7 separate regions of the Homo sapiens genome follow, and regions 1, 2, 3, 5, 6 and 7 are each linked to region 4. The links are contacts of gene promoters, found by promoter capture Hi-C in blood cells and fetal thymus (Javierre and others, 2016). All regions are on one chromosome and are shown on one strand. The core of a region is centred on a gene start or on the middle of the fragment in contact, and the rest is flanking DNA. Distances in the headings are between cores, read along the strand shown. Region 1 overlaps ITPRIP (inositol 1,4,5-trisphosphate receptor interacting protein). Region 2 overlaps LOC124902497 (a long non-coding RNA gene). Region 3 overlaps ITPRIP (inositol 1,4,5-trisphosphate receptor interacting protein). Region 4 holds the start of STN1 (STN1 subunit of CST complex). Region 5 overlaps CFAP43 (cilia and flagella associated protein 43). Region 6 holds the start of CFAP43 (cilia and flagella associated protein 43). Region 7 holds the start of CFAP58-DT (CFAP58 divergent transcript).

The links. Contacts are between HindIII fragments. The CHiCAGO score rates a contact against its expected background, and 5 or more counts as called.
Region 1: a fragment that was not itself captured here is called in contact with the fragment with the promoter of STN1 in region 4 in 3 of 17 cell types (fetal thymus, activated CD4 T cells and naive CD8 T cells); the score reaches 6.1 in fetal thymus.
Region 2: a contact is called between a fragment that was not itself captured here and the fragment with the promoter of STN1 in region 4, in 6 of 17 cell types (fetal thymus, erythroblasts, naive CD4 T cells and 3 more). The highest score is 10.8, in fetal thymus.
Region 3: a contact is called between a fragment that was not itself captured here and the fragment with the promoter of STN1 in region 4, in 1 of 17 cell types (total B cells). The highest score is 5.0, in total B cells.
Region 5: a fragment that was not itself captured here is called in contact with the fragment with the promoter of STN1 in region 4 in 7 of 17 cell types (activated CD4 T cells, naive CD4 T cells, M2 macrophages and 4 more); the score reaches 7.4 in activated CD4 T cells.
Region 6: the fragment with the promoter of CFAP43 here is called in contact with the fragment with the promoter of STN1 in region 4 in 13 of 17 cell types (fetal thymus, naive CD8 T cells, naive CD4 T cells and 10 more); the score reaches 14.3 in fetal thymus.
Region 7: a contact is called between the fragment with the promoter of CFAP58-DT here and the fragment with the promoter of STN1 in region 4, in 1 of 17 cell types (total B cells). The highest score is 5.0, in total B cells.

The regions. Positions count from the first base shown.
Region 1 is chr10:104,329,284-104,332,030 of GRCh38, forward strand. All of the region lies in intron 1 of ITPRIP (inositol 1,4,5-trisphosphate receptor interacting protein), which reads right to left. Among named protein-coding and RNA genes, the nearest start is that of ITPRIP-AS1, 7.3 kb to the left of the region's middle. RefSeq lists silencers at 94-143, 2,168-2,462 and enhancers at 916-1,561, 1,562-2,207. The HindIII fragment of the contact is 171 bases long and covers 1,276-1,446 here.
Region 2 is chr10:104,247,692-104,250,391 of GRCh38, forward strand. LOC124902497 (a long non-coding RNA gene) reads right to left here. Exons shown (of 2, transcript XR_007062284.1): 2 at 642-901. Among named protein-coding and RNA genes, the nearest start is that of GSTO1, 5.8 kb to the right of the region's middle. The HindIII fragment of the contact is 1,590 bases long and covers 639-2,228 here.
Region 3 is chr10:104,310,581-104,313,280 of GRCh38, forward strand. It overlaps ITPRIP (inositol 1,4,5-trisphosphate receptor interacting protein), which reads right to left. Exons shown (of 2, transcript NM_001272013.2): 2 at 1-2,700. Among named protein-coding and RNA genes, the nearest start is that of ITPRIP-AS1, 11 kb to the right of the region's middle. The HindIII fragment of the contact is 212 bases long and covers 1,243-1,454 here.
Region 4 is chr10:103,916,674-103,919,479 of GRCh38, forward strand. It overlaps STN1 (STN1 subunit of CST complex), which reads right to left and starts at 1,511. Exons shown (of 10, transcript NM_024928.5): 1 at 1,427-1,511; 2 at 789-983. The coding sequence starts at 921. RefSeq lists enhancers at 973-1,302, 1,162-1,807, 1,438-1,732 and a silencer at 1,473-1,822. The HindIII fragment of the contact is 18,147 bases long and covers 1-2,806 here.
Region 5 is chr10:104,213,477-104,216,176 of GRCh38, forward strand. CFAP43 (cilia and flagella associated protein 43) reads right to left here. Exons shown (of 38, transcript NM_025145.7): 4 at 783-950. Among named protein-coding and RNA genes, the nearest start is that of MIR609, 4.1 kb to the right of the region's middle. The HindIII fragment of the contact is 3,368 bases long and covers 1-2,700 here.
Region 6 is chr10:104,231,103-104,233,816 of GRCh38, forward strand. It overlaps CFAP43 (cilia and flagella associated protein 43), which reads right to left and starts at 1,262. Exons shown (of 38, transcript NM_025145.7): 1 at 1,080-1,262. The coding sequence starts at 1,144. RefSeq lists an enhancer at 1,089-1,383. The HindIII fragment of the contact is 2,497 bases long and covers 1-1,445 here.
Region 7 is chr10:104,352,245-104,354,991 of GRCh38, forward strand. It overlaps CFAP58-DT (CFAP58 divergent transcript), which reads right to left and starts at 1,331. Exons shown (of 2, transcript NR_108036.1): 1 at 874-1,331. CFAP58 (cilia and flagella associated protein 58) reads left to right here and starts at 1,589. Exons shown (of 18, transcript NM_001008723.2): 1 at 1,589-1,662. The coding sequence starts at 1,654. RefSeq lists an enhancer at 1,259-1,318. The HindIII fragment of the contact is 7,343 bases long and covers 1-2,040 here.

The DNA of each region.
Region 1 (2,747 bases), core at 111-2,610, 410 kb after region 4:
AAACCAGTCCTCCTCCTCTCTGGAGAGCAGAGGGCCCACATGGTAAGGCTAGGAACAGTTAGCAAAATTGCTCCCAGAAGTACCTATGACTACTCAGAGTCACACTCTCTACGGATTGCACAAAACAACCCTACTATGACATCATTTTCTAGTCACAGGGACGGAGCAATAAGGTGTGATGCGGGTGCTCCACCGAGGCTGTGCTGGCACCCAGTAGGTGTCCAAATAATGCCTGCTGAATGCATGGACCCATGACTCATATGTGCGTCAGTCAGACTGAGGTGGGCAGCAAGCAGCCACTGATAGTGTCAAGTTCACACAGGCTCATTTCCACTCCTACTGTCACCGAGAAAGAAACAGCCCAAAGCTCATCAGCTAAGAAGAGCTTAACAGTTTGCAGAGGCTTAGAGAACCATTGCTAAGGAGTCAAACTCTGGAATCAGAAGGCCTGGGTTTGAATCTTGGCTCTACAACTTGCTATGGCAATAGTGTCCAATTTATGGCCTTGTGGACCATCTCACAGTCACTCGGCAGTGCTTGGTAAATGATACTGCTGTTGGCACTGGTACTGGTGCTGCGGTCATGTCTCCTTTTTGATTTGTTAAATCGTCATGGTTGCATGTTAAGGAGTCCTCTGGGAAGAAGTGGGTGAACAACATCCCTGCAGCTCCTCCAGAAGCCTGGGGAGTATGACTAAGTTGTCTCCTCCACCTCCTTGTCTTCTTCTAAAGGCCCCAGGGGCTGACACAGAGGAAGAGGAGGAAGTTTGGAGACCTAGGAAGGTCAGCAGCACCCTCCCTTACTCCCTCCAATCTGGCATCATTGACACTGACAGCTCTTCCATTAGGTTCTGAGTACCCAGCTTTGGAAGAGGGTAGTTGCTATAATGAATGCTTGCTGAATACATGAATGGAGTTAGGATTGGGAAAAGAACCTCACTGCCTTTACTCCCAGGAGCAGGAATTTGAAATTCCTGGAGTGAAGTGGAAAGCTCTGGATAAAGTAACTTCTACATTCTTTCTTCCTGGGAGGGGCACTGCAGTCAGAAAAACAAAGTGCTAACAGTGTAAGTGCCTTGGAAAATCCCTTCCAGCAAAATCCCTTCCAGACGTAGCCCTGGAGACAGAGACGGTTGCAGCCCCGTTTGGTCTGGACTGGCCTTCATGTAACTGCAGGCAGACTCACTGCCAACGTTTAGAAAATGGCCCAGGAATGAACCCTGACACGTTTTCTGACCCTCAGCTGCCTTGCCGTGGACACCTCCCTTCTTGCTCAAGCTTCTTGTAGAAATAAACAGAGGATTACAGAGTAAGAGAAGGAGCAGAGAAGTAATTCTTCTTTCAGGAAAAAACTGGACAAGCCTCAGGGCCCTGACACACCATGGGAGGGTTTAATGAATTACAACCACTGCATCCCATTTATTGAGGCTTAAGCATTGCACAATAAAGCTTTACATGTATCATTCTCACATCAAACCTCTGAGGCAGGCACTTATCTCCATTTTACAGATAAGGCAACTGAGGCACAGAGGTGAGGCCACTCACCAACATCATAGAGCCAGGATCTGAATCCAAACCTATCTGACTTTCAAGCCTATACTCTTCCCATGAAGCCACGAGCTGTGCTGCTCAGTGACCTGGTATCTGTGAAACATTAGACATGTACCTATGGACTTTCCTCACCCGGACTGTTTAGGGAAGGGTAGGTGACAATCTAGATGAAATGTGGGCATGAAGCAGGGAGTAAAACCTAATGAACTTATGAGACTCCTTCTACCAAGATTCTGTGAGTGTGGCCTGGGCTATTTGAGATAAAAGGAATGGAAAGCCTTCTCTGCAAAAAAGGGAGTGAGGGCTCTCTTGACACTGGCAGGTAGGCATGTGTTGGGGTGAAATGTCAGGAAGCGGCATGGGTACATTAGGGACATTTTGGGGCAGCACACAGGGGTAGGACCCAGGCAGCCCCTGCTCTCCTACCCTCCAGCCCAGGCATGCTGCACCCCTGCCTCCTTGGGAACTTTGGAACAAAGTCTCAGCAAACAAAGGACGCGTTCGTAAACTTCAGGCGGGTCCCCCGGCTGCTGCTAAGAGGCTATTGAAGCCGGCTCCCATGAGAACAGTATGTTATGAGCACATGGTTTTGCACTAGCGGGCAGGGCCAAAATAATGACAACACCTTCCCTGCTGCTTTGATACAGGAGGAGGGGGCGAGAGTTGGGGGGACTCCTGCATCAGCTTCAGGGAAATGACCTAGAAGGGAGAGAAAGCAGTAGCAGCCCAGGGTTGCTTCCAAGCTGAGCCCCTCTTCCCAGGCAGTGAGTGTCCCACTGTGTTATGCACCTGGAAGTGAGTCATTTGATAATTGCGGGGCTTTGTATTTTTCCTAGGGACTTCCAGCAGAGGACTGCAAAGTGCTCTGAATATTATCAGGAACTGGTTGTTACTGTGCCTATTAAACAGAAAAGCAAACAGTGCTGGAAGGGAAAGCCTTTCCTTCCTTTCACCCTCAGATAGCTCAGGCCACACTCACAGAATCTCTTGGCAGAAGGAGTCTCCAAAGCTCACTAGGTCTGCTAATATCAGAGTGAGACAGCAGGAAGGGACCAGAAGTCTCAGGCCTGGAGTTGGTGGTCTGCTTGCTGTTTTCTCAGTATTGACACTTAAAACTTTGTGGGATTCTTTATGCCATCTGTATGTGTTCTGGGCTACAGTGTCCAGACAGACGCCTGAGGTGGCAGAAAGAGTCCA
Region 2 (2,700 bases), core at 184-2,683, 330 kb after region 4:
AGTTATGTGGTCTTGTTACATAGTTGCAAGTCATTTCCCCTTAGCTGTTGAGTCTGGGAAGAAAAGTGGTTTACAGGCACACTGAAACAATATGCCCTGTCTAGGCAGGATACATGGTAACAAGACTATGTTAGTTTTTTAAATTTTTTTTCTGAGTTCATAGAATACTATTGTGAGCTAATTCTCAGAAGGAAGGCTATAAATTTCCCTTAAATTGTTAATTAGCATTTATAACACACATTTGTGCTCTAGAGCAGTTCTGAGTTGGAACGTATTAGTGGTTGGTAAGATCTGCTTACTAAGTTGTAACCAACATGTCTTTAAAATGAACGGAACAAAAAAACTTCACAGTGCATCCCAATGGTAAGTGTAAATTCTGTTTTAGGGGTGTGTGTGTGTGTATGTATTTTTTATTGGACATTAAATAAAATACATTTTTTTCTTTAAAAATGTCAGTAAGTACTTTAGGGGGACTGTGAGGGAGACAAACTGTATTTAGTCAGCTCTAAGATCAACTGACAAGGAGGGAATAATTAAATAAATAACCAATTAAATTACAACAGAATCCTAAAATTTTTATTTAACGCTTATTGAAAGAGCTCTTTTAAGCCCAGATTTTTATGATAAAAGAACTCTTAAGCTTATTTAGAAATGATTTTTATTCTATTTTACTCTTGTGCAAGTATAAAAAGGAAAATATAAGTTATATAAAGTATTCATTCAACTTTTAGAATCCAGCTCTTTTGAATAATTTTTAAAATCAGCATCATAGGCATTCATTTCCCCAACTCATTCATCCCATAGCATTGTCCTCTGTGCCAAGAAGATCATTTAATTCCATAATGCAGCAAGAATGTTCTGTTATCTCTGGGATTTTCTTCCAAAGCCATTGACAGCTACCCTGCAAGTCCAAGCAAGAGCAATAACATCAGTGTCAAAACTGCTACACAGCCTGCTGTAATTTTAGATACACTTCCATTTTTAGAGGTATTTAAACATGAAGAAATGTGAATCTTAGAATCCATGAGATATGGTAGCAGTCTTAACTGCTACCTGATCTCTCGATCAGACTTAGGTGTCAGACTGATGGGTGAAGCCAGCTGGGCTTCTGGATCGGGTAGGGACTTGGAGTACTTTTCTGTCTAGCTAAATGGTTGTAAACACGCAAATCAGCACTCTGTGTCTAGCTAAAGGTTTGTAAACACACCAATGAGCACTCTGTAAAAATGCACCAATCAGCGCTCTGTGTCTAACTAAAGGTTTGTAAACGCACCAATCAGCACTCTGTTAAAAACGGACCAATCAGCACTCCGTAAAATGGACCAAACAGCACGACATGGGCGGGGCCAAATAAGGGAATAAAAGCTGGCCACCGGAGCCAGCAGGGGCAACAGGCTGGAGTCCCCTTCCGGGCTGTGGGAGCTTTGTTCTTTTGCTCTTCACAATAAATCTTACTGCTGCTCACTCTTTGGGTCTGCACTAGGTTTATGAGCTGTAACACTCACTGTGAGGGTCTGCAGCTTCATTCCTGAAGTCAGTGAGACCGTAAACCCCCGGGAGGAACAAACAACTCTGGACGCAGCACCTTTAAGAGCTATAAGACTCACTGCAAAGGTCTGCAGCTTCACTCCTGAAGTCAGCGAGACCATGAACCCACCAGAAGGAAGAAACTCCGGACACATCTGAACATCTGAAGGAACAAACTCTGGACACACGATCTTTAAGAACTGTAACACTCACTGCGAGGGTCCGCAGCTTCATTCTTGAAGTCAGCGAGACCAAGAACCCACCGGAAGGAATAAATTCCAGACACAAGACCAGAGTTGACAACCCATCTCCACCATAAAAAATATATTGATTTTGAGAAAATCACTTAACCTGTGCCCCCCAGTTTCCCTATCCCTGAGATGGTAATATTAACAGTATTTAAATCTTAGGATTGTTGTGAGGATTAAAGACTTTCCAGGTAGAACATTTAGGAGATAACTGGCAGGACATGTACATTCAACAGATGAGATTACCTCCTGCATGCTGTTTTACAACATTTTTATTTAACAGTGTATCTCTGGCATGTTTCTGCATCAGTATATATGAATCTACTTCATTACTTTTAACAGTTGTCTTTTAACAGTAGGTTTTTTTTTTCCTGTTCTTTAAAAAATGTTTCTTAAATCTTAATTTTTCCCAATATAGCGTATATTAAGAGTAAAAAATCAAAGTGAATAGAAAGCTTTTCAAATGACAGCAGTCGCCACCTCATTTCTCCCCACCTGATCCTTTCCCATCTCAATGCCATTCTCTAGAAGCCACCTTCCAACTGAAGAAACAGAAGGGAACCAATACCCTGGAAGCACCTCCCTACATCATGCACCCACCCTTTTCCATTCCCTTCCTTTCCCCTGGATGTAGCTACCATCCTGAATTCTGTGATTATTGTTCCCTGCTTTTCAATTCTACCATGTATGCATGAGCCATAACTAATGTGCTGTTTCACTTTGCCTGTTTTTAAAGTTAACACATGTAGAATCATACCATATATATTATTGTGACTTGCTATTCTGGCTCAATATCATGTTTTTGAGAGGGATTTAAGTTGATAACTATAGCTGTAGACTATTTGTTTTCATTGTTGGGTAGATGTCCATTATATGAATACAACACAATTTATCCATTCTTCTTTCAATGGACTTTTAATATCCC
Region 3 (2,700 bases), core at 99-2,598, 390 kb after region 4:
CAGTGCCTGTTTCCTTATCTGGAAAGCAGGGAGGATAAGAATAGCACCTACATCATAGGACTGACATGGAACTGTGTGCATTAACAAATGTGTGTGCGGAACGGTGCCTGCCATACAGTAGGTGCTTCCCACCCTCACTCCATGCTTCTGGCTGGAATGTCTTTCCTGGCCACAGTCCTGGTCATTTTTCAGAGTCTCTATCTGGCAGCGCCCCACCATGAGGCCTTCCCTAATCAGCCCAGGTACCAGTGGTTCTTGGACATCCAGAATCAGGTGGGGAACTTGGTGAAGTGCAGATTCTTCTACCTAACTTCTCAGGATCCCACTGGAGTCTGTGACACGGCCCAGGAAGCTGCCCCCAGGTGACACCCGTATGTGTAGTGCAGGGTCACACTTGGAATAGCTCAGTACTTGGAAGGCCACCTTCTGCTGCCTCTCCTAGGGAACAGGCTTGGTCCTATTCATTTTCCCATCTTCCACAATGTCTCATGCACGTTAGGCTCCTGACAAATGCTTGTGGACTATTCATGACCTGCTTGGGAGAAGGGCTCACCATCTTATGCCTTCCCACCCTCTCTCTGAGGCTTACGGCACTAGCGTGAATGTGGGTGCCCTCATGAGAAGCTTGTGGTGTAGCTGATGCCACTTAGACCACAGATTCCAAGCAGGCTCATTGGCTTTTCCCAGGTCTATCTATCTTCCAATAGATCTGTAGGGAAAGTAGTCCACTTGGGTTTTCTTTAACTTTCCATTAAGAAAGAAAGTGAGAGGGCTTCCTCAGCTAGGGGTACCATCAGTCACTTGGGGGAAATCTTTAAAAATCGAGCCTAGCCTGACCACTCCAGACTGGATTCTGAGCACCATGTAGGTTCAAGGCGGGGTCGGGGCAATGGACCAGGTTGTCTGGGTGATTCGGATGACACCCTTGATGATGAACCAGAGCTCCACCCCCAGGTTCTCAACGGGGGCTGTGCTTCAGCCAGGCATGCAGAGGGGCTAGAGCTTTTGAGGATATAAGGCCCTTCCCCAACATAACCAGCCTCTTGGCCTAGGGGCCAACTCTATTCATTTCACCCTTGTTATTTTGCAAAGCAAGTGAGCAGTTGCTGGGGAAAGTCAAGCATCCTTGGGAAAGAGACTCTGGGGAAAGAGGGCAGGGTTGTCCTTAGTGGAAAGGCCAAAGTCCCCTAGAGGACTCAAAATCCTCTATTTAAAATACAATCTCTTTCTTTAAAACCCAAAAGCTTCCTGTTAGTTCCAGCTCCTATATTTCTCGCTGACATTAGCTCTGTGAAATAAGGTCTTAGGCTGGAATCCACCCTACAGCCAGCTTTCAAAGGCCCTTTCTGGAGCCCTGCGGGCAGCACACAAGTTGCCTCAAAGACAGGGTAGAAATGTTCTGTTTTGTTATTTTTTAAAGTCTCCTGAAAGTGTAAGAATAAAAAGGGAGTGAAAGCTTCTGCTTTGTCAATAGGAAATCCACCCCCCTGTCCCCAACTCTGCCCTGGGAGCCTCACAGATTTCCTGAAGTTAAAAACAAACAGTGACCATTTCTACTCCTTGCAAGATTTAATTCTTCCTTTAATATAAATAAGGCAGCATGAAACACCAAGAGCCCCACTGCTTTCTGCTTTAGAAGCAGCTTTGGTGCAGAAAAGATTCCCGTTTCCCCACCGAGTTCTGTTGTCTCTGTACACACAAGAAGCCAGAAGATATTTTTTTTTCAGTGAACTTTCTCCTGGAAGCAAAGGAGAAGCTATGGGAGATCCAGGCATGGTTTTGGCTTCTGGAGGCTGTTTTTTGGTTACTGGGGTCTCTTCAAAGCAAAACGGGATCAGGATGAAGAGGGGGAAAGGCATGGGCCATAAATAAATAAGGAAATTTGCCCCGATTCTACAAATGCATCTGATGGAATGAGGAGGGTCAGGCTGTGAGGGATTGGGGGTAGCTCCAGGCTGCTGTTAGGGACACACTTGAGCTGGTTCATTCCCTGGAGTGCCCCGCAACTGCGTCTAGGGAGAGGCAGGCCCAAGCACATGTTCAGTCTAATTCCAGCTCACACTGGAAGGCTTCCTATAGGTTTGGTTGCCCTGATCACAGCCGAGCTGCCCCACCAGGAATTAACCCTGGTGGGCAAAGGGTCCATCTTCTCAAGCTTTCTGAGGCTGGTTGAGAGCACTCCTGGGGATGGGGGAAGGATCTCCTTCCTTCAGTTTGTGGGGTAACTGGGCACCCCTGTCAAGTTGGTTATGCTCTCGGGAAGGCATGGCCGGCTTAAACCCTGGAGGAACACGGTATATTCTTGACTCCCTGGCCCCCTGCAAGGGTAACTGAAGTAACGGTGAGATAGGAAATCTCAAAGGGCCAGTGAAGCCACAGGTGGAAAAGAGCCTTCCTGATCCCCCTGAACCAGACCTGGAGACGGAGCCCAGCTCCAACCACAGAGCTTCTGCCAGGCTCTTTGGGTCTGGGTCATCTGTGTGGTCAGCAGTGCCCACACAGAAGGGGTGGGTTCTGTGCAGTGAGGGAGCCCCGCTGGAGTGAGGAACTAGGGGCTCAGAGCCTGCAGACTGGAGCTAGGTTTCCATAGTTCTTGCTTCCATGCACACCCTGCCCTAGGATTGGGACCCTGAGGACAACCTGGGGCTATGACATCCTTGGCCCCTGATCTCTGCAACTTTCTCTGAACTGGGCCAGACT
Region 4 (2,806 bases), core at 261-2,760:
ACATGTGGCTATTTGTGAATTATTACACAGCTACGTGAATTATTTAAATCCACCCCAAACTATACTTGTTATATTTTTAGGTAAGATAAGCCTATCTCTAGTAGCCACTATTCTAATACAAAAAAAAAAAAAGAAAATTTAAACTTTACATGTATAATGCCTTGTTGCTTCAACTGCTATTTCTATTTGAGGGCCCACTATATGCCAGGCACTGTTCTAAGCCCTGGGATTACAAAGGTGAACAAGACAGATGATGTTCTTCCTCTCAGGGAGTTTATAATATTTTGATTCTGCTTAATTCAAAAGAAAACAAACCCCCTTTACATATCAGGAATCAAAAGATTCCATTACACAGGGTTAAGCTCCATTTTTACAAAGAAACCCAGACTTTGCAGAAGGTGAGTCACATGCCCGGACCAGGTAAGTGGCACATTTAGGAAAGGAGCCAGGCCTAGGAATATCTGGCCCAGCGATCTCTCCAACAGGAGCAGGGCCAAAGAAAAACAAATGAGCATTTTTAAGCATGAAAGACCCTAAATGGAGGTAAAAACCCCAGTACAAAAGTTACTCCCCCAAACACCTACTAAAAAAAAAAAAAAAAAAAAAAAGATTTAGACTGTTTTTTTTACCTTGCAAATAAATGAACTCATGCGAAGGTCCAGGCTAGGTCCCTTTCAAAGCCTGCAGCAGGGAAGGCTCTCCTAAAAGCCTCTAATCCCAGCTTTCTGAGACTTTGGGAAAGGGTGGCAGATGCAGCCCAGGGCATCCCAGGGTGGCTAGCCACATACCTGGCACCTGGCGGGACTCCTTCATGTCCAGGATATCCCTGATGTAGAGTTTTGCAAAGGCTAGAAACACAGGATCCAAACCCCACAAGAGGGAAGGGGTCTCCTCTTCACACCGGCTGGATCCAGGCTGCATCAAGAGGCAGGGCTGTGGCTTCCAGCTAACTCTGAAAGGTTCTGCATCACTGAGTCAAGCATCTAGATGGGACACAGAAATGAGGATGCAATGCGTTTAACGTGGGTCAAAGTGGCACGGCCCTGACGCTGCTCCCAGGTGGGCGTCCAGGACTCCAGGAGGGGTGAACGCAGGGATCCAGGGCCCTGTCAAACTCCATGCCACGGGGCGTGTTAAGAGGCGTTCCTCACGTCAGGACGCCTGCGTTCCTTACGGCTCTCCCGCTGTTCTCCTTCCCACAAAGCACCAACTTCGGAACGGCTAAACATCAACTTTCACTCTGGGAAGATACGTCTGTACAGGCGTAGCAGAAACCGCTTGGGGTCCCGGGAGGAACGGGCGCCCTCGCAGCCCTGCACGTGTTGGGGCATAGTGGATGGGTCTGACTGTCGCTCTGCCCTAAACTTTCCGCTTTTGGGGATGAGCCAAGAAAAGGAGGAAAAAAGATACTAAAAAATGGACCCACTTGTAGCCCCTCCCGCCGCCTGCAGCTCCAGGAGCCCTGAGACCTGGCCCTTCCGGCGCTCGGAGCCGCTGGCGGCGACGACCCCGCCCGGCGCAGGAGCAGTTGGCTGAGGTCGTCTCTGGAGTTCCGGCCTGAGCCCGCCCCCTGCCCCGCCAGGGACCAACCCCGGTCTCCCCGCCAGCGCATTTCCTTTCTGCTGCAGCGCCTCGCCACGGCTCCGCCCCATCTCTCCCGAAGTCCCGCCTCATCCCACCCAGACCCCACCCATCCCGCCGCGGCCACGCCCCATCCTGCCCGAAGCCCCGCCCCATCCCGCCCGAAGCCCCGCCCCATCCCGCCGCGGCCCAACCATCCGCTAGGCCCCATCCAGCCGAAGTCCAGCCCGTTCCGTGCCCCGCCTCAGCGCAGCGTACTTTTGGTTCAGGCAGCGCTGCAGCCCCGCCTTCGTGCTAGCCTCCACCGCTGAGGCCTAGGAGGCGACCTTGAAATTCCTGCAGTTCTAACGCCGCTCTTCTAGTCACCTTTCACCCCTCCTCCTGCTGGTGGCGGGACCCTGAACCTGGGCCTCCTAGAGGTTGGGTCAGGATCAGACTATTTTTCTTTTTGATTCCTGATATGTAAAACAGATAAAAAGTAAGCAGTGCCACGAGTGCATTGTGGCATATTTTAAATGTTCATTTACAGTTGGTAAGTGACCTGACTCACACACTTAGGACTCTAGTTTCACTTGGAGATGTCAATATCTAAATTTGAGCCCTCGAGTGAATGTGAGGTCTTGACTCTGCCAGAGACTAGCCGTGCAAAATCATGACAATACATTTTGTCTCCTTTACCCTTGTTCGGTCTACAGTCTGGAAGGTTGTACACTTAAGAACTTTGAAAAGCTGGCATTTTGGTAAATCATGGCCACCTTGATGGTGCTTAGTCTCCAGAATTTCTATTTTAAAGTGAGGAAAGATAGCCACGTTCCACTCCCATAAAGAGCTACGTTACCCGAGACGTCAGGAATTCTTCCTAATTTACAGAGACTCTGGAAAATGGCAGGGGAGTACAGATCACCCTGGCAGACCATTCCCGGGGGAGGCAGGTGGTGGCCAAAGAGATAATTGCTAAACTATTTATCAGAGAAGGAACTTGGAGCCGCTGGAATGGAAAGTGTGTGTGTCATTAGACCCATGGCATTTAATTACCTCCCCGGCCATTTAAGAAGCTCAAAAACAAGAGTCCTTGGTAAAATACATTGCCCAGATTCTACTGCAATGAACACTAGGAAATGTAGGGTTTAAGATTTAATTAAGAGAAGACACTGGCTGGGCGCGGTGGCTCACACCTGTAATCCCAACATTTTGTGAGGCCGAGGCGGGCAGATCACGAGGTCAG
Region 5 (2,700 bases), core at 181-2,680, 300 kb after region 4:
CCATGGCTCCACTATACACAACTACCCTTTTGCTTGCGGATAATGTGTCTGAATGTATAATCTGCATATTTTTTTTTTTAGATGGAATCTTGCTCTGTCCCTAGGCTGGAGTGTAGTGGCACGATCTCGGCTCACTGCAACCTCCACCTCTTGGGTTCAAGTGATTCTCCTGTCTCAGCCTCCCGAGTAGCTGGGACTACAAGCATGCGCCACCATGCCCGGCTAATTTTTTGTATTTTTAGTAGAGACGGGGTTTCGCCGTGTTAGCCAGGATGGTCTCGATCTCCTGACCTCGTGATCCGCCTGCCTCGGCCTCCCAGATTGCTGGGACTACAGGCGTGAGCCACTGCACTCGGCCAATCTGCATACTTTCTATATCTAACCATTTCTTATTTTTGAAATTCCAGTAGGGCATCTGAGTAATAGCAAAAGTCTTAACTCTCCTTTTTATACAACAGGCATGTTTTAAAATAGTAAGGACAAATAAAATTTTAGAAAATTAGATCATGTTGGAAAAAGCTCTCAGAGAACTTAATATTTTAAATAAATTAATTGGGAAACAAGTCATAGAGAATTCTTTTGAAATGCAAACAACCACTCCAAGGTAATCACGCATGTAGAAAGATGTTATAACAAGATAAGCTGAACGTATGTGTGTGTATGTGTGTGTATGCATATATATGTATGTATAAAGCCACTTAATTCATCAAATTGACCCAATCACATTACACGAATGCAAACAAAGACCACCATGTTGCTACTGTTGTAACAAAGGCTCCTACCTTGCTCTGAAACAATGCTCCTGGTTACTTCTTTCAATGGTCCACACGCTCACTGTACTTGGACTTGATAAGCACAGCTGGCGCCAGTTCATGGGGTTAAAAGACATTTGGTTCACATCCATTCCAGGCTGTGATTTCTTACACAAAATGATACTCGATTCCCAGTTCCTTAGAGAAAAATAGCATTTGATGAAAAAAAGTTCATTTGAATTTCATGTATTTAGAACATTTATCTATTTTTTAATTTACATAAATTGGGATATAATTTATGATACAATTTATATAATCAATGACCTTAATGTCAAATTTATAAATAATTATGCTTATCATTGTATTGTATCCTAAGAAAGCAAAAAAACTATGTTTTAAAAACACTATACTGTCATATGCTATACCAAGGCTATTTTATCTTCTTTAATAATTTTGCAATTTAACTCAGCCAAACCTAGAAAATGAAATATATCATCACATTTGCTACAAAACAAGTGTAAGTGCCTGAATCTGTAAGTACTACATGTGAGTACTCCATATGGATCTGGGGGTACTGTTCTCATCGATGCCAATTGATCATTTATTGAGTTTTTAAAATTAAAGTGGTGCCAGGCGCGGTGGCTCACGCCTGTAATCCCAGCACTTTGGGAGGCCAAAGCGGGTGGATCACGAGGTCAGGAGTTCAAGACCAGCCTGGCCAATATGGTGAAACCTGTCTCTACTAAAAATACAAAAATTAGCTGGGTATGGTGGCACACGCCTGTAATCCCAGCTACTTGGGAGGCTGAGGCAGGAGCATCGCTTGAACCTGGGAGGCGGAGGTTGCAGTGAGCCAAGATTGTGCCACTGCACTCCAGCCTGGGCAACAGAGCAAGACTCCATCTCAAAAATAAATAAATAAATAAATAAATAAATAAATAAATAAATAAAGTGGTGTATTTTAAAATGGATTTATTCATTTACCCATTTAAGAGAATATCCTGAACTCCTACCATGAACAAAGTCCCTTGCTAGATGAAGGAAAAGAAAAAAATTAAATGTGAGCTATGCCCTCAAATGAGGGGCCAGAACTCCATTCAGAGTTGTGATTAGGAAACTGGAGCTAATATTGATTGAGCTTAGCTTGCCTTTCACTCCCTCCTGCCCTCATCCTTCATTCCCTATCACAAATGCCCTGCCCAACACATCAACCACACTCTTGCTGGAATCTCTGGTTCCCTTGATCCTTTGACTTTTTGCATCAGGTACCTGGCAAAGACCGTCATCCCTGGATGGAGACAACTGAAAGCCTGGGCTGCTAGAGACATGGGAACAAAGACTACAGGACTGTGCATGGCAGTGACACCATAAACTTGTGGTTGCCACCCCCCACCAGACCCTCAATAGGATCTCCAATCCTGCTATGTTTCTCTGGCCAGTTCTCTCTCTCTCATTCTCTAAAATGGGCATTTAAAATATTCTCCCCTCTCCCGAAACCTCTAGCCCCTCTACTCCCTTCTCAATCTCAGTAAATGGCTTTGATTCCCATGAATAAAATAGAGGCCATCAGCTGAGAATTCTTGCTCTCAAGTATAACTACCCATTTGGGTCTGCATGGTTCTCTCCGCCTCCTCTCCCCTTACAATGGAAGGTGTGTCCTTCCTCCTACCTAAGGCCAATTCCACCACCTGTGCTCTGGGTCCCACAGTCTTGCCTTCTTAGGGACATTGGTTTACTCAGGATAACTGCATCTTCCAACTCTCCCTCTAGCCTGACTTCTTCCTGCCAACACACAAGTGCTCATCCATACCATCCTCAAAAGAAGCCTTCCCTCAGTCTTACCTTTCTATGTCTCTCCCCTCTCCTCAGAGTCAAACTTTTTGAGCAAGTTGTTCTAAAGTCACCGCCATGGCTTCCTCAGCTACACTTTCCTCATCCCAGGATACCT
Region 6 (2,714 bases), core at 12-2,511, 310 kb after region 4:
CTGACCAAACCTGAGAAAGTCTCAGAAGGACTTCTGGGGTCTTCTATACTTGGAAGACAAAAAGTGAAAATAACAGAGAAAAGAGCTTGATCTCAACACAGTGGCATCCTGGGCCATTCTTTTATAATTAGTTTGATTTTTTTAAATAAACTTTAAAAAACAACTTTGCATAGGACAGCCTGCTTTGTGGTTGTTAGCAGAGTAGGAAAATTGCTTATTTACACAGATGAAGAGTATGTGGCCATATTTTAGATTTAAAAATACAGATAAACGTAGAAAATAAAAGGAATGAAGTCGACGTGAATGAAAGGCTAGCACACAAAAAGAACATACTCTCAAGTAAGGAGTGCGTGCTAGGTGTATGCTAGAAAGGAGAGGAGATGAAGGAGATTCTATTTTTATTTAAATATTAAAGGTATGCTTGAAGATGGTGGAAAAGGCAAGTGAAGGACACTGGTTTGGTGAGAAACCTCGAGACATTAGAGTGTCCAGGACTAGCAGGGGATGCTGTATAGAGTGGAGGTGGGGGCTGGGAGGAACACTCTAGAATGTAGGGGAAAAAATGCCACCTATATCTGCGCAGTGCTTGATGCTTTTCAAAGGCTACTATAAATGCAAATAAATCCAAAGCTAGTGGATAGGAGTTAGAAGGAAAGGATTCAGGGACCTAACTTTGGGGAAAATCACCAAAGGTAGCAAGGACGGGATCCGGGCTGTCGCCAGGTGGAGGGGGAGGGGGATGTGATCAGAAGACCCGGATCACTAGCGGGAATCCTGAGCTAGAAGGAAGAGATGAAGGGTGCAGGGGACGTTGCTGGGTAAGAGACGGAGGGTCAGGGTCGCAGAATAAGGAGTGGGAAAGACAACTGGGGACGGGGTCAAGGAACAAGGGGATGGGGAGCGGACAGGGGAGGTCACACGGGGAGGGAGGCTGAGGGAAGGCACTGGGGGCAGAGGGGAAGAGGTCGAAGCTGCGGGGAAAGCCGCCCTAAGGAACCGGAGGGAGAGGAGGGAGGAGGGGACTTGGGGCAGGAGGTTCCGCGAGACCCAGATCGGTCGCGGGGCCGTGAACACCGCACCTCACGGACAAGGACGCGCCGCCGGCGGAGTGGGGGCCTTCGTCGCGCTCCCGGCCTTGCGCCATGGGCAGTGTTTTCCTCAGGCGGGAGCAGGCAGCGCACGCAGCACCCCAGGGCGGGTCGGTTACCTTTCCGCCGCCGCGGGGCTGCGGGCCGCGACGCCGCTGCTGTGTACACCCGTATCCCGGAGACCGTAAGCCCCGCGCCCATTGGCTCTGCGCTTTGGCCCGCTCCCTTCTGAGCCGAGCAGATTGGTGGAAGGTCTGCCGCTCTCGGCCAATGGGTGAGCGGCAAGCCAAGCGAGGGGCGGGCCCCTTGCTGTTCAAAGTGTGGTCTGTTTACCAGCAACATTGGTGCTACCTGGGAAGCTTGTTATAAATGCAGAAACTTGGCTCCCACACCAGATCTACTCAATCAGAATCTGCATTTTAACAAATTTCCCCAGGTCCGGGCCAATAATTGCAAGTAAGACTCATGCCTACAATCTCCGCGCTTTCGAAGGTCAGAGCGGGAGGATCGCTTGAGGCTAGGAGTTGAAGACCAGCCTGGAAGACATAGCGAAACCTGCCGCGCCCGTGCCGCATCTCTACAAAAAAATTTAAAAAGCAGCCGGGCATGGTGGTGCACGCCTGTAGTCCCAGCTACTTGGGAGACTGAAGTGGGAGGATCGCTTGAGCCCAGGAGTTCAAGGCTGCGGTGAGCTGGGATGACGCCACAGCACTCCAGCCTGGGCGACAGAGCGAGACCTGTCTCTAAATAAATAATTATTTTTAAAAATCAATAAATTTCTAAACAGACTTTCATTTAGAGTGCTGACTGTGCCAAACATTGTTGCAACGTCTTCACATCTCCCATCAGCCCCATTTTACAGATAAGTAACGTGAGGAAAAGAGAAGCACATAATTTGTCCATGGCTACAAAGTTGAGTGGGACTTTATTTATTTATATTATTTATTTATTTATTTTTGAGATAGGGTCTCACTCCGTTGCCCAGGCTGGAGGGCAGTGGCTTGATCTTGGCTCACTGCAACCTCCATCTCCTGGGTTCAAGCGATTCTCCTGCCTCAGCCTCCCAAGTAGCTGAGATTACAGGCACGTGCTACCATGCCCAGCTAATTTTTTGTATTTTTAGTAGAGACGGGTTTTCACCATGATGACCAGGCTGGTTTCAAATTCTTGACCTCAAGTGATTCGCCCGCCTTGGCCTCCCAGAGTGCTGCGATTACAGGCGTGAGCCACCTTGCCCAGCCCTGAGTGGGACTTAAACGCAGGTCTAGCTAATTTAGAGCTCCAAGCCCTTAAGTACCATATAACACTTTGAAATGTACCCTCTTGCTTCCTCAGGGAAGCAGACAGCTCTGGAAGTAACCTGATTGAATGGTCGGCAGCTTGTCATTCCTTCTTCTCTCCCATACCTTCCCTTAGACTCCCTCCCTTACCCTTCTTCCTTTCCCTTCAGTCGTCTTCCCTTCTCTACCCTTCCCTTCCTTTCTTTAGGTCTTTCCTTCCTGTCTTGCTTTCTTCTCTCCATTTCTTTCACAAATATTTACAGAGCATCCCGCATGCATTCATGCATGTGCTAGTCACTTGGAAAAAATAGAAAAACAAATAAAGTTTCTTCCTTCTTGGAACTTA
Region 7 (2,747 bases), core at 81-2,580, 440 kb after region 4:
AAGTGTTGGATGGAAACCCCACACTGGAGTGCAGCGTAGGGCAGTAACTCTGGTACACAATCTTAAAGTGCTTGGTAAGTACCCAGGGCTTGTACTAGGCTACTGGGCATCGTTGTGCTCTTGGAAAACTGTTCATCTGGCCAGATGAGTTTGAAAATATCACACCCTCTAGATAGTTACAGCCTTCTAGGTTCATGACTTGGCTGGCGTACAGAGATTTTGTGAGAATAAAAAGTGCACACCTTTCTCCAGTAGGGCACATGGCACGGGAAAGAGAGTAGAGACAGTTTTTCAGCCTCCATTGCCCCATGGCTGGATGTGTTTGTGCAGGACGCAGCTGCATAAGCAAATGTCCCTGTGCATCCCTATAACTTTAACAATCTTACTCCTTGGCATATATTTCAGAGGAATTTGCACAGAGGTCCTTAAGGGACCACGGACAAAGACGATCATGGCTGTATTACTTGATGTATTGGAGAATTAGAGGCGGCCTTGTTACCTAACACCTGGGGAATGGAAGTGAAGTGTGGTAGATGCCCCTTATGAAACGCTGTGCAGTACTCAGAAGCAATGAACTATATGCTTGCCAATCGCAACGAGGACAGATCCTTAAAAAGAATGTTGAGTGAAAAAAGTAGAAAATAAGATAATCTCCAAAGTCCAGTAGCATTATTTAAACATTTTTAAAAAATACACTGATAAAAATTTTGTACATTTCCCAAAAATACATATGGAAGCACAGCAGCATGAATGCCTATGGGGTTGAGGATAGGGGTTGGGAGTAGGGATGGGGATAAAGGGGGAAAATAAAACCAGAGAGGAGTCTTACACATTTCATGAACCAAGGAGTATAATTATTTCAACTATTTGTACCTGAAGTCCAGAAAGAGTGGAGGCAGAAGGGGGAGAAGAGGGCGAAGAAACGTTTTTGGGAGAGGGGTCCCAGAAGAGAGATTTTCGCGATGTGGCGCTACATACGTTTTTCCAGGATGCCTTAAGCTCTGCACCCTATTTTTCTCATCACTAATATTAGATTAAACCCTTTGAAGACAGCGTCTGTGGTTTCTCTACTTCAGCTTTCCCTCCGTGTCTTGCACACAGTAGCTGTTTTACAAGGGTTGAACTGACTGAAGTGAGATTATTCCTCGTTGTCTCGGAAGGCAGAGTGTAGCCGCCAGTCCTTCCCTCATCCGGAACCTTCTGGTCCACATTTCCTTCCAAGCGTTAGTCCTCGGCTCTCCATGCTTGGCTCCCTAGTGTCACACACCGTCCTTTCTGGGTGGCCTCTTCCAATTCGCCCTCTTCTTTCTCCTGGGTGTCTCCATCTGCCCACACCGTGGGACTCCTCCCAGCCTCTCAGGGGCACCGCCCCCTCACTTCCTTGGCTCCGCCCCATTGGGATATATTTGCATATTTCTCTGAGGAACCCTGCCCAGGTGCCAGCCGCAGAAGCTCCTCCCCTTTCGAATTCCCGCTAGCGCCCCTAGAGGGCGTGTCCGTTGCCAGGCGACGGGCCGACGCGCCGAGCGCGGGTTTCCGCTCGGGGCGGGCGATAGAGACAGCGCGTCGCGCCTTTAGCTTCTTTCCCAGACTCCGGCCCAGCTCCTGCGATCTCCACAGCAGCCTCTGAGGCCGCCCCCAGAGAGCATCAGGATGGCTGAGGTCAGGAGTCAGCGCCCCTCTGTCGCCTTTCCCTTGACCCCTCCCCATTGTCCCTCTCCTACTGACGATTGTCACAAACGGTGATTCCAATATTTCCCCCCATCAACATCTTATTCCCCTGCACCCTCACTCACTCCCGCGCCTTTCTCCGTTGGCTCTGGCCTCTTTACCTCCTGTTTCTCCTTCATTTGTGTGGACACCCCACTATCCCCACTGTGGCATCGGCGCTATGCTAAGTGCGGTAGAAAATTAATGAATTCTGAAATCCACACGTGACATGCACCCAGCCCTAGATTTTTAGTCATGGAGTGATACCATAAGAGAGGCTCACACAGAAATATTGGAGATGTCTTATCTCACAGGGGAAACCGGGAAGAAAGCTTCACAGATGCCTGCTGTCATCCCAATCAATGGCCCTTGTCCACCTGTCACACCCTGATTTCCTAACATGTGATCACCTGCTGTCACACAGCTTCATTAAGGCTCTTCTGCCCATCACCTCTGCCCCGTGTGTTCATTGACTCCTGTGTTAACATCTCGTATCACCCCACCACTCCCCCATATTACAGTACACCCCATTTTCAGCCTCTCCAATGAGGGGTTATTTCTGCAACCCTTCAGTGACTCCCTGCCTGCCCCTTAGCCCCCTCACGTATAACCTCAAGAGCCTCGGGTCCCTGTCATTACTTGCCATTCACAGTCCCCATCCACTATGGCCCTACCCAAATCCTTCATGGCCCCATCAGAGCCCTTCCCCCATCACCCATCCCACGGTCTGTTCCAGCCAGGACCAGCTACATGATTTGCAAGGCCTGATGCAAAGTGAAAACACAAAGTCTCTTCAAAAATTACAAATAATTTTAAGACAGAACAGCAGAGCATTCAACCAAGAATGGGGCCTTTCTGAGCAAGGGGCCCTGTGCAACTGACCAGTTTTCACTCCCATGAAGCCAGCCCAAGCCCCATCATCTTTCAGCACCATCGTGCTCCACCCCCTCCCCACCCCATTCTAGTTACTCTCTTGCTTCCTCTGCACCATTCACATCCCCTCATCATTGCTTTTCCTCCATCTCCAGTCTAGCTTT